Regions from separate parts of the Homo sapiens genome. Here regions 2 and 3 are each linked to region 1. Evidence: promoter capture Hi-C in human tissues and cell types (Jung and others, 2019). All regions are on one chromosome and are shown on one strand. Each heading gives the region's core, a stretch centred on a gene start or on the middle of the fragment in contact. The rest is flanking DNA. Distances are from core to core; before and after follow the strand shown.

Region 1 (3,687 bases), core at 554-3,053:
CCGGCTCTCCTTTGGCATCTCAGAGGGGGCGAAGGCTAGGCCCAAGGCTAACGCCTTCCGGGTTCGCACCTTCCAAAGGCGGCTGCCGATTTCAGTGGCGTGTGGGCGCCTCGGCGCTCTCGGAGACGGAGCCTGTGAACCTGGGTTTGGGGCGCAGATGTGGGAGCCAGGAGGTCCCCAGCGCTTTATTGCAGGGCTCGAACCTGGGTATAGGGGAGCAAAAAAGAAACTAGAAATGGCCACAGGCAGCGCGGTACTCTAAGATGGGAACGCCCCCTGGGAAATGGGGAGGGGGAGGTCCCAGGTGCGGGCGAGTCCAGGCTGTGAGGAGGCAGGAAAACCTCCCAGAACAAGACCGTCCCCAAAGAAACACTTTGACCCCCATTCTGATCACAGGTTTTAAAATATTCACATGACATGGGCACGCTGGATCAAAACCGAGGCACAGACACTCGCTTGGGCCTCAACTCCCATCTGAACCCCCCAAGGAGCGCCCCACCCCAGCTGTCTCTGCCCATGAGCCCCTGATTCCCGCCCCGCTCCCCCAGGGCACCCGGAGAGGCCGTGCGCGCGCAGGGTGGACCCTGGCCCTGAAACCCTGGGAGCTTCTCAGCCAGCGGCCATCCCCTCGGAGATCAAGGCCGACTTCTAAAAGCAAAAGGGAGCCTCTGGACTTGGCTGACTTGCTGGCATGGAATCATTTCCAGAATATTTTTACTCCATTACAGCACGGGAGGTGAGAAAGAGACACGACTCCAAGAACCCGCAGGTCTCTGACGGGAGGCATTCTCGGGGCGGCTCATATAGCCCGGGCGCCCACCTCCGAACCCCACCTCGATCGCGGGGTCTCCGGGAAGGTCACGCGTAGGACCCGTGCCGCGCGCCAGAGTGCTTCCGCACGCTCCCTCCCGAGCCCCCTAGTGCAAACCAGTCAGAGGGGGGCCGAGGGCTCCTCAAAGTTTCCCGGAGCGCCCCCCAGGACGAAGGTTAGCCAGGAGCAAAGTTCCTTGTGGTGGTAGCCGGAGACATGGCAGGAAAAGAAAAGCTCGCAGTCAGCATTTCCTCCGATGTCTCACCAAGGGAGGGAAAAAAATAAAACGAGAGGAAGAAAACACCCTCCCGCTCCACCTTCCCTGTTGCTGCACAACCTCGTGCTAGCTCCGGGCCGGGCTAGTGGCGAGGCGCGGCCTGCGGGGAACTGGGGCCGGGCCCGGGAGGGACCATGCGCCCGCGGCCGCGCACTTACCTCGGTCAGTGGCCCGGGCGCGGCGCGCTCGGCGTCCTCCAAGCTCCGGGCGGCCGTTCCTGGCCCCGGCAGCTGCCGCGCTGGCTGCATCGCCGCCGCTGCCGCCACCGCCTCAGGGCAGCTCCCGGGGGCGCTCCATGCCGAGGGGCGCGTCTTCTCTGCAAAGCGGATCGCCCTGGTCCAGCCACGGGTCGGGGGCGCGCGCCTGGACGGCGCCCCCGGCCGCTGGGCGCTCGCTTGGGCCGGGGCGGCTGGCGTCGGTCCCTCGGTCCGGCTGTGAGCACGGCCGGCCCACCCCCTCCCCCGCCGGCTGTTATCTGATCTCGGGCAGGGCCCGGCGCGCTCCCCTACGCCCCGGCGCCCCGCACCTCCTCGCAGGCTCTGACCGCGCCAGTCCCCCTCCCCCGGCTACTGTTCCCAGGGAGGCGGCAGCAGTGGCGGTGTGGCCGGGAGAAGACGGGGAGCGAGGAATGGAGGGCGAGGAGGCGGCGGGAGGCAGAGGCTCGGCGCGCACCCAGCTCCGCGCCTCGCTCCACCGGAGCTCAGCTCGGCAACTCCTCTAACTCTCCGCGGAGAGCACGCCCGCCCCGCGCCGCGCCGCGCCGCGCAGCCGCTGCACCAGCCTACCACGGCTCCGGCCTGGCCCCGAGCCCCTCCTAGTCCCGGGCCGCCCCCTACACACACACCGCCAGCCACTTGCGCACTGGGACGCGCGCGCGCACACACACATATATATATACACACACACACACACACACACACACACACACACAGGCACGACTTCCCGGGGACATGCGCGCACACACACATACACACACATGCAGGCACGTCCGCCGGGGACACGCGCGCACGCACAGGTGCATGGCGAGCACACACACAGGCATAAACATGCAGGATACATGCCCCCACATGCATGATGTTCGCAGGGGCACATGTGCACACTCGCTCATATGTGCACATGCAGGATGGCATCTGCACGTGTGCATACGCACACACAGGTCTAAGCTTGTGCATTCCCACAGAGCCCTTTTCCCCTGCACACCAGGCACGCACCCTCTACACACACCATCCCACCCTAATAGCATTTTTCTCCTCTCCATCTTGAGCTGCTTGGCTTCTCCCATCTCCTGCCTTCTCTGTGCTCCTCCCTGGACCTCTCTCTGCCGACCGGATCCCCATGTGACCCCCTTCTCTTTCGAGCCCCTGTCTCTGGAGGCTCAGGCTTTCTTCCCAACCTGTCCCCAAATGCCCTGCCCTCCCAGCTTTCTGAGGCCTATTGTCTGGGCCTCATATCTCTGAGCCTCCCGCAGGGGCCAAGTCTTTCATCCTGGCAGACAGACCTGCTCGCCTGGACACTGACCCAGGGGAACTCCATTTTGTCACCAGTCTGACCCCCAGCTCGGCCCTAGGGCCTCAGAATTGGGCCGAGGAGGCCAGTCTGTGCCCAGAGCATGAGCCTCAAAGGGCTCCTTGGCCCCCTTGGCCTCCAGCTTCCCCTTTAATGTGAAATATAATTATGTGTCTGCACAGCAGGGAGACTGGCTGCAGGATTCTAACCGAGGAGGACGGCTCTCTGGCCCGCACCCAGATTGCTGGCGGCTCAGAGCAGAGTGATCTGCAGGCCCCACCAGCCCTAGGATCCTGGCCCCAGGCAGCTGGTGGGTGAAATCCAGCCCAGCACTCACCGACATCAGTCTGCCCTGGGTTTGAATCCCACCTCAACTGACTAGCTGTGGGACAGGTCACTTCACCACTCAGTGCCTCTGTTTCCCTGTTGTCAGTAGAAATCACTACACTCATGGGGCTGTAGCAAGGATTAAATGAGATGAGTCTACCTAAAGTGCTTAGCACTTGACTTGGCTGGTAAAACAGCCAGGCGGAGCACTCAATATGTTCTGAGCTCTGTGCTATGGACCCAGCTAGAATTATTTCATTACCACTGCGGCCATCTGTGGTGGATAAGCTCATTGGCTCCATTTTACAGATGAAGGAACTGAGGCACAGAGGGGTGGTCACTTGCTTAATTACAGAACTACCAGATGGTGGAGCCAGTACGCAGAATCAGGTGTGTCCTCAACTTAGGGCTGCAGTGGAGAAAGAAGGGGCATCGCAGAAGTCTGCAGCCCCCACCCTGCCCTGCCTGGCACACTGTGTCCTGGTTTCCTCCTCCTCCTGGGAGAAACAGCCTCCCAGGGGACCAAAAGCTCTCAGGAAACTTCCTTCTTCTCCCTCCGAGTGACCAAGGAGGGAAATGACTCAGCTCCCCACCTGCCCCTGCTCCATTTCCCAGATGGGGAAGCCCAAGCCAGCTGCGGAAGAAGCCTCAAACCAGCTCCCACCCTCAGAGACCACTCAGCTGTCCCAAGAGGAATGGGGCCTGAGACATCCCTCCCTCGAGGCCTTACTCTGGTGGCCTAGAAAGGGGCAAGGGAATGGACGGG
Region 2 (3,510 bases), core at 767-3,266, 320 kb after region 1:
GAAAGAGAATGCTCACTGGGCAGTCTGGGACTGTTTGACCCCCCAAGTTCTTTAACACATCAAAATGACAAACTTTCTTTTACATCTGAATATACGCAAGATATCTACCAGAAATCACTTTGGGATCTGCAGGGAAGAGAGGGCCCTGTGCACACAAAGAAATTTCAGGCCAGGCACAATGGCTCAACTTGAGTCCTGGTGTTTGAATAGCATGGGCAACACAGCAAGGTCTCGTCTCTCAAAAAACAACAAAAAAAAGCCAGGTGTGGTGGCTGTGGTTTGTGGTTCAAGCTACTCAGGAGGCTGAGGCAAGAGGATCACTTGAGCCCAGGAGGTAGAGGCTGCAGTGAGCTGTGATTGCGCCACTGCACTCCAGCTTTGGTGAAAGAATGAGATCTTGTCTCAAAAATAAATAAACAAATAATAAAGAAATTTCACAAGGCTGTCACAATTGACACGAAACCAAATGCAATGTGAGAGCCTTGGTTGGATTTTGAATGGAAACTAATAACAGCTATAGGAGACCCTTTGGTACAATTAGGGGGAAATCTGAATATGGATTATGAAATGCATTGTATATGAGGCAATGCGTATAGGGGAATGTATTGTATTGAAGTTAAATTTCCAGTATATGATCATTGCACCATGGTTTTGCAGAAGAAACTAGTTCTTCTAGCTTGTCTGCAAGTAACTCAAAGTGTGTCTGTAAGTAACTCAAACACAAAATTTAAATTAAAAATATACGTGGAGAGATAAGGTAAAGTGGTAAGAAAACTGGATTAAAAACGTATCGCTAACTAGAGAATCTAGATGAAGTGTCTATGGGTGCTCACTGCATAATTCTTATGACTTCTCTTTAGGTTAGAAAATAGTCAAAAATAAAGTAGAATTGGGGAGTTTGGTTAGAAGCTTATATGTGTAGGGTCTCCCAGTTTCTCCCACTTTCTTTCTGAGACACAGAGAGCACCTTGGCCACTCTGTGATCTGGCTGGCTGCATGCTTCCGCTGTGGGCTGGAACCTGAGCTGGGGCCCTGAACATTCCCAGGCACTGATAAACTTGCTTATGTTGTTGTCCAAAACACTTCAAGATCAAACATCTTGCTAAACATGTAGCAACTGACACCTTCCCCACGCCCCTCTCCAAGGGCTCCTCTCCGGGGGGCACCCATTTCCCTGAAGGCCACCTGAGGCCTGTGACAGCCCTATGTATGTAAGCGCCCTAATGCATGCTTTGCACTGGTCACCCTGGCGTTTGGTGCTTCTTTCTTTGGAATCCCATCCAGGGCTGGTCTGGGGTACCAGACCAGGGAACAAGGGAACAGGGGAACAAGGGTACCAGACAAGGGAACATCCTTGCCGCAACCCTAGCTGTGGGTTCAGCTGAGAGGATGCAATTTCTGACAAGATGACCATAAGTTGGTCACCCTTTCAGTTGGGTGGCTGGTGCTTATTTGAGGCTTCAGTGTGATATTCATTCTAACATTCCATAGAACAGTTTTTTAAAGGCTGAACATCTGGGCTGGGCACGGTGGCTCATGCCTGTAATCCCAGCACTTTGGGAGGCCGAGGTGGGCGGATCACGAGGTCAGGAGATCGAGACCATCCTGGCTAACACGGTGAAACCCCATCTCTACTAAATATACAAAAAATTAGCCAGGCGTGGTGGCGGGTGCCTGTAGTCCCAGCTACTCGGGAGGCTGAGGCAGGAGATTGGCGTGAACCCGGGAGGCGGAGCTTGCAGTGAGCCAAGATCGCGCCACTGCACTCCAGCTTGGGCGACAGAGCAAGACTCCGTCTCAAAAAAAAAAAAAAAAAAAGGCTGCACATCTGAAAAGAGATCTAAACGTGCATTTTTATAATAAGGGGGCTCTCCTTCAGCATCAGTTCAAAAGTTCAAAGGGGAGGGTGTTACTGAATGTCTCTACAGGAGTCACATGAGTTATTCACGGGAATAACACATTAGGGAACATTTTTGAGGTTTTTTTTTTTTTTTTTGGAGATGGTATTTCACTCTGTCACACAGGCTGGAGTGCAGTGGCGCGATCTCGGCTCACTACAGCCTCTGCCCTCTGGGTTCAAGCAATTCTCCTGCCTCAGCCTCCCAAGTAGCTGGGATTACAAGCACACGCCACCATGCCTGGCTAATTTTTTTGTATTTTTAGTAGAGGTGGGATTTCACTGTGTTGTCCAGGCTGGTCTCGACCTCCTGAGCTCAGGCAATCCACCTGCCTCAGTCTCCCAAAGTGCTAGGATTACAGGTGTGAGCCACCGTGCCCGGCCACATTTTTGAGTTTTAAACTTTTAGAAAACATGATGTAAAGTTCTGTGATGACAGAGGGGCAATTTTTCTCTTTGTTCTCTACTCTGTGGATGTAAAAATCCATTCCTGTATATTTGTTAGGCTATAAATGTACCATTTCCAGGACGGTAATACAACCTAACAGGGACAAACCTGTAGTCCCAAAACAATGGATTTCTTAGCATCCTTGCAGCAAGAGTGATCACTTACCTGAGGAACCTGGTGTCCTCTTCAAACAAAGGTAGAGGAAGGGTTTGTTTGTTTGTTTGTTTGTTTGTTTTTTGAGACGGAGTCTAGCTCTGTCTCCCAGGCTGGAGTGCAGTGGTGCGATCTCTGCTCACTGCAAGCTTCGCCTCCTGGGCTCACGCCATTCTGCCTCAGCCTCCCGAGTAGCTGGGACTACAGGCGCCCGCCACCATTCCCGGCTAATTTTTTGTATTTTAGTAGAGGGGTTTCACCGTGTTAGCCAGGATGGTCTCGATCTCCTGACCTCATGATCCACCCGCCTCAGCCTTCCAAAGTGCTGGGATTACAGGCATGAGCCACTGCGCCTGGCCACATAGAGGCAGGGTTCTTACAGGATCTGGAGGAGGGTGGAGGTTAGGTACAATATAAATGAATCAGTGTTGTGGATAGGCGTGAAGCAAGCAGGATTATGTGTGTAAAGCTATAAAGGGGTTAACATCAGAAGCCGACCCAGGGTCCTGTTCCCTTAGAAACTACAAAGTTAAAATAAATGTAGGATGTTGTGCTTAAAAAGCTCCTTTGTTTGTTTGTTTGTTTGTTTGTTTGTTTTTGAGACCGAGTCTTGCTCTGTTGCCCAGGCTGGAGTGCAGTGGTGCCATCTCAGCTCACTACCAGCTCTGCCTCCTGGGTTCCCACCATTCTCCTGCCTCAGCCTCCTGAGTAGCTGGGACTACAGGCGCCCGCCACCACACCCGGCTAATTTTTTGTATTTTTAGTAGAGAAGGGGTTTCACCGTGTTAGCCGGAATGGTCTTGATCTCCTGACCTCGTGATCCGCCCACGTCAGCCTCCCAAAGTTAAAAAGCTCTTTTCTAAAAAAAAAAAAAAAAAAAAAAAAAGAAAGAAAGAAGAGAAAAATCCTGTTTCAGCTGGAAATTGAGGCTGCTTCTTTGTGTCAAAGAATGTTCCAGTCTCACTAACATGGTTTCAAACAGCAAAGTTTCTGACAGTCCGTGATTTTACAG
Region 3 (3,613 bases), core at 853-3,352, 340 kb after region 1:
TCAGTTTCATCATGTTTCTCAGAACGGCGGGCAGTTTAAAGCTTATGAATTGTTTATTTCTGGCATTTCCATGTTACTATTTTCAGACTGAGGTTGACTGTGGGTAACTGAAACCACAGCAAGCGGAACTGTAGGTAAGGGAGGACTGCTGTGATATTTTATATTTCATACGTAATTTCCTTCTGGTTTTGGTAGTTGGGATACACTTTTTAGGTAGGCCTGGCAAGTAAGTCTCCTGACCTGTCCAAGGACATCACCGGCAACTGCTGGGTCCCAGCCTTGAAATGAGGTCAGTCTGAGGTCTTGCCTTTGCTGAATGAAATTACCCCTTCTGTAAATTGAAAGGTCTGGAGTCGCTGTACCCTTAGATTGATTTTGGCTCCGAGATTGAGGGGCCTGAGTCTGGAAGCTGAGGTTTTTGAGGTTGGGGAACTTAATTTGAGAAGATTATCTAATTTTGGCAAAGTCTTTAGCTTTTTAGTGCCGTATTTTTTTTTTCATATAAAGGATAGAATATTTAGGCCGGGCACGGTGGCTCATGCCTGTAATCCCAGCACTTTGGGAGGCTGAGGTGGGTGGATCACTTGAGGTCAGTAGTTCAAGACCATCCTGGCCAACATGGTGAAACCTCATCTGTACTAAAATACAAAAAGTTAGCCGAGCATGGTGGCACGCGCCCGTAGTCCCAGATACTCGGGAGGCTGAGGCAGGGGAATCACTTGAACCCGGGAGGCGGAGGTTGCAGTTAGCGGAGATTACGCCACTGCACTCCAGCCTGGTGACAGAGCAAGACTCCTTCTCAAAAAAAAAAAAAATTATACCTGTCCCTTCACTTATGTCAGTGTTTGAGTCCTTGAAAAAGTCACTGAAGAGAATGCACAAGAATTAAACTTACCTTCCTAAGATGCTCAGGTTTTAGACCAGTAGGAAGTCATGGGTAATGTGTGAAAAGTGCACTAGCTCTTAAGGTGGTGTGTCATGTTTGCACACTTTTAAAAGCTGGACTCAAAATTCAGTGTACTGTTGAGTCATCCCATAGGGTAAGTCTGGTTGACTACAAGGGCTCTGCCCCTCTTGCTCCTCCGCATCCTTCTTGGGGTGGGAGGTAGTGTGAGTGGGGAGATAAGAGGACAGGATATTCAGAGGAATATTCTTAATATCGGGACCAAATTAATGAATTTGGCAGGGTGTTTCTGTACTGCATAAGATCAACAACAATTAAATAATTGATCCTCTTCTAATTCCTGTCACATACAAATCCTAGTTATGTTTCAGGATTTGCTTGCAGTCTACTGAATCTACTTGAATTAATTTATAGGAGAAAAGGATTTAATTCAGAAATCATTGCAAGGGCTATGGAGTAGTAGATTCTAGGTTGAATTTCTAGGAAAACCCGCCAGCCTGGGGAATCCTGCCTCTGCAGGAGCCACCACACCAGAAAGTGGTGTGCTGGGCTGCTTAAACAGTGCCACCCCTCCACGGTCCATGTCAGCCTGTGGATGCCCCCACTGGGCCTCTCTCCTTAGCTTACTCACCAACCGCATCGTCTGCAAATGTGTCTCAAGATATGTTTGGAACATGAGCTGCAAGGGTGCCTGGGGAATGCATTTTCAACTTTTTTTTTTTTTTTTTTTTTTTTTTTTTTTGAGACAGGGTCTGGTTCTGTTGCTCAGGCTAGAGGGCAGTGGTGCGATCTTGGCTCACTGCAGCCTTGACCTCCTGGGCTCAAACCATCCTGAGTAACTGGGACTACAGGTGTGTGCCACCATGCCCAGCTAATTTTTGCATTTTTTGTAGAGATGAGGTTTCACCATTTGGCCCAGGCTGGTCTTGAACTCCTGGCCTCAAGCTGTCCTCCCACCTCGGCCTCCCAAAGTGCTGCATTCCTGGCGTGAGCCAACACGCCTGGCTGTGTTTTCTACTTTACAGTGCTGTGAAAGGAGATAGAATAAAAATGAATGTGAACCCCATGTGAGTGACCGGGCCTGCTGTAACAAACCACCACAAACCGATTAACTTAGAACAACAGAAATTTCATCTCAAATTATGAGACTGGACGTCCAAAATAAAGTGTTTGCAGGGTAGCCACTCCAGAGGCTATTCCTGGCCTCCTCCAGACACTGGAAGACATGTGCTACCTTACTCCTGTGTCTGCCTCTGTTACATTTAAATCTGATACAGTATTATCAATGGACGTGCTGTTCCACAGTGTAGATTGGGGAAAAATAATAATGCAGTGTTGGCATTGTTTAACAACAGGATACATTCTGAGAAATGCATTGTTAGGCGATTTTGTCTTTGTGTGAACATCATGGAGTGACTTAACACAAAGCTAGATGGTACAGCCTGCTGCACACCCAGGCTGTGTGAGATGGAGCCTGTTGCTCCTAGGCAGCAAACCTGTACAGCACGTACCGTACTGAACACTGTAGGCAGTTGAAAGACGGTTGTAAGCATTTGTGTTTCTATAGCTAAACATAGAGAAGGTTACAGTAAAAATATGATACTATAATCTTCTGGGACCGCCATTGTACATGCAGCCTGTCATTCACTGAAACATTGCTATGTGGTGTGTGACTATACCAGACATAAGATTGAGGTTTTATCAGTATGTCAGAGACAGCTGTTTTCTGTATTTAGCGCCAGTTGTCTTGTTGGTTGGCTGCTTGAATAATGTTGGAGAAGCTGTCTCTTAGCTGTGTTGGCTCCATAAGGCCTGTAAAATGTGTCTTCCCTGGTGATTGGTAAACCCGTGCAGGGGAGCATCCTAGGTTGTGTAGTAGAGATAGACCATAATGGAGTGTGTAGCACAGTCCTAGGTTGTGTAGTAGAGATAGACTATAATGGAGTGTGTAGCACAGTCCTAGGTTGTGTAGTAGAGAGAGACTATAATGGAGTGTGTAGCACAGTCCTAGGTTGTGTAGTAGAGAGAGACTATAATGGAGTGTGTAGCACAGTCCTAGGTTGTGTAGTAGAGAGAGACTATAATGGAGTGTGTAGCACAGTCCTAGGTTGTGTAGTAGAGATAGACTATAATGGAGTGTGTAGCATAGTCCTAGGTTGTGTAGTAGAGAGAGACTATAATGGAGTGTGTAGCACAGTCCTAGGTTGTGTAGTAGAGATAGACTATAATGGAGTGTGTAGCACAGCAGGAGCTTGTTGTGTTTAGTTGTTTTGTTCAGTGTTAGGTTTCTGAGATTCATCCACGCTGCTGAGTATATCATAAGTTCCTTTTCATTGCTGTGTACTTTACTCAATTAACTGTAGTATAGTTTATTCTTTTTACAAGTCATGAACATTTGTATTTTCAGCTCTGCGGTGTTGCAAGTAATAATGCTACAAAAGTCCTTGTACGTGTCTTTGGTTGCGTATAAACCTATGAATTGAAGCGTTAGGCTGTAGGGTACATGTGTTCAATTTAATAGTTGTCTTCTATCCATTTATTTGGAAAATAAGAAACCTACAACAAATAGCAAGAATGCTAAAATGAATATTGTATACATTTATATGGATTCATCAATTGTTAGCTTCTTGCTAACTGGTTTTATGTCTGTACCTTTTTCTGAATCATCTGAGGGCTGACTGTAGACATCATGGTAGTTTACCTCCTAAG

What was found. Contacts are between HindIII fragments. The study calls those that stand out against the background at their distance.
Region 2: a contact is called between a fragment that was not itself captured here and the fragment with the promoter of KCNJ12 in region 1, in 1 of the 25 tissues and cell types used here (spleen).
Region 3: a contact is called between a fragment that was not itself captured here and the fragment with the promoter of KCNJ12 in region 1, in 2 of the 25 tissues and cell types used here (dorsolateral prefrontal cortex and mesendoderm cells).

What each region holds. Positions count from the first base shown.
Region 1 is chr17:21,374,473-21,378,159 of GRCh38, reverse strand. It overlaps KCNJ12 (potassium inwardly rectifying channel subfamily J member 12), which reads right to left and starts at 1,803. Exons shown (of 3, transcript NM_021012.5): 1 at 1,247-1,803. The HindIII fragment of the contact is 9,762 bases long and covers 1-3,687 here.
Region 2 is chr17:21,055,093-21,058,602 of GRCh38, reverse strand. No RefSeq gene overlaps it. Among named protein-coding and RNA genes, the nearest start is that of USP22, 14 kb to the right of the region's middle. The HindIII fragment of the contact is 4,660 bases long and covers 1-3,510 here.
Region 3 is chr17:21,030,956-21,034,568 of GRCh38, reverse strand. The region is part of intron 1 of USP22 (ubiquitin specific peptidase 22); the gene reads left to right. Among named protein-coding and RNA genes, the nearest start is that of USP22, 10 kb to the left of the region's middle. RefSeq lists a silencer at 25-144 and an enhancer at 166-667. The HindIII fragment of the contact is 5,012 bases long and covers 1-3,613 here.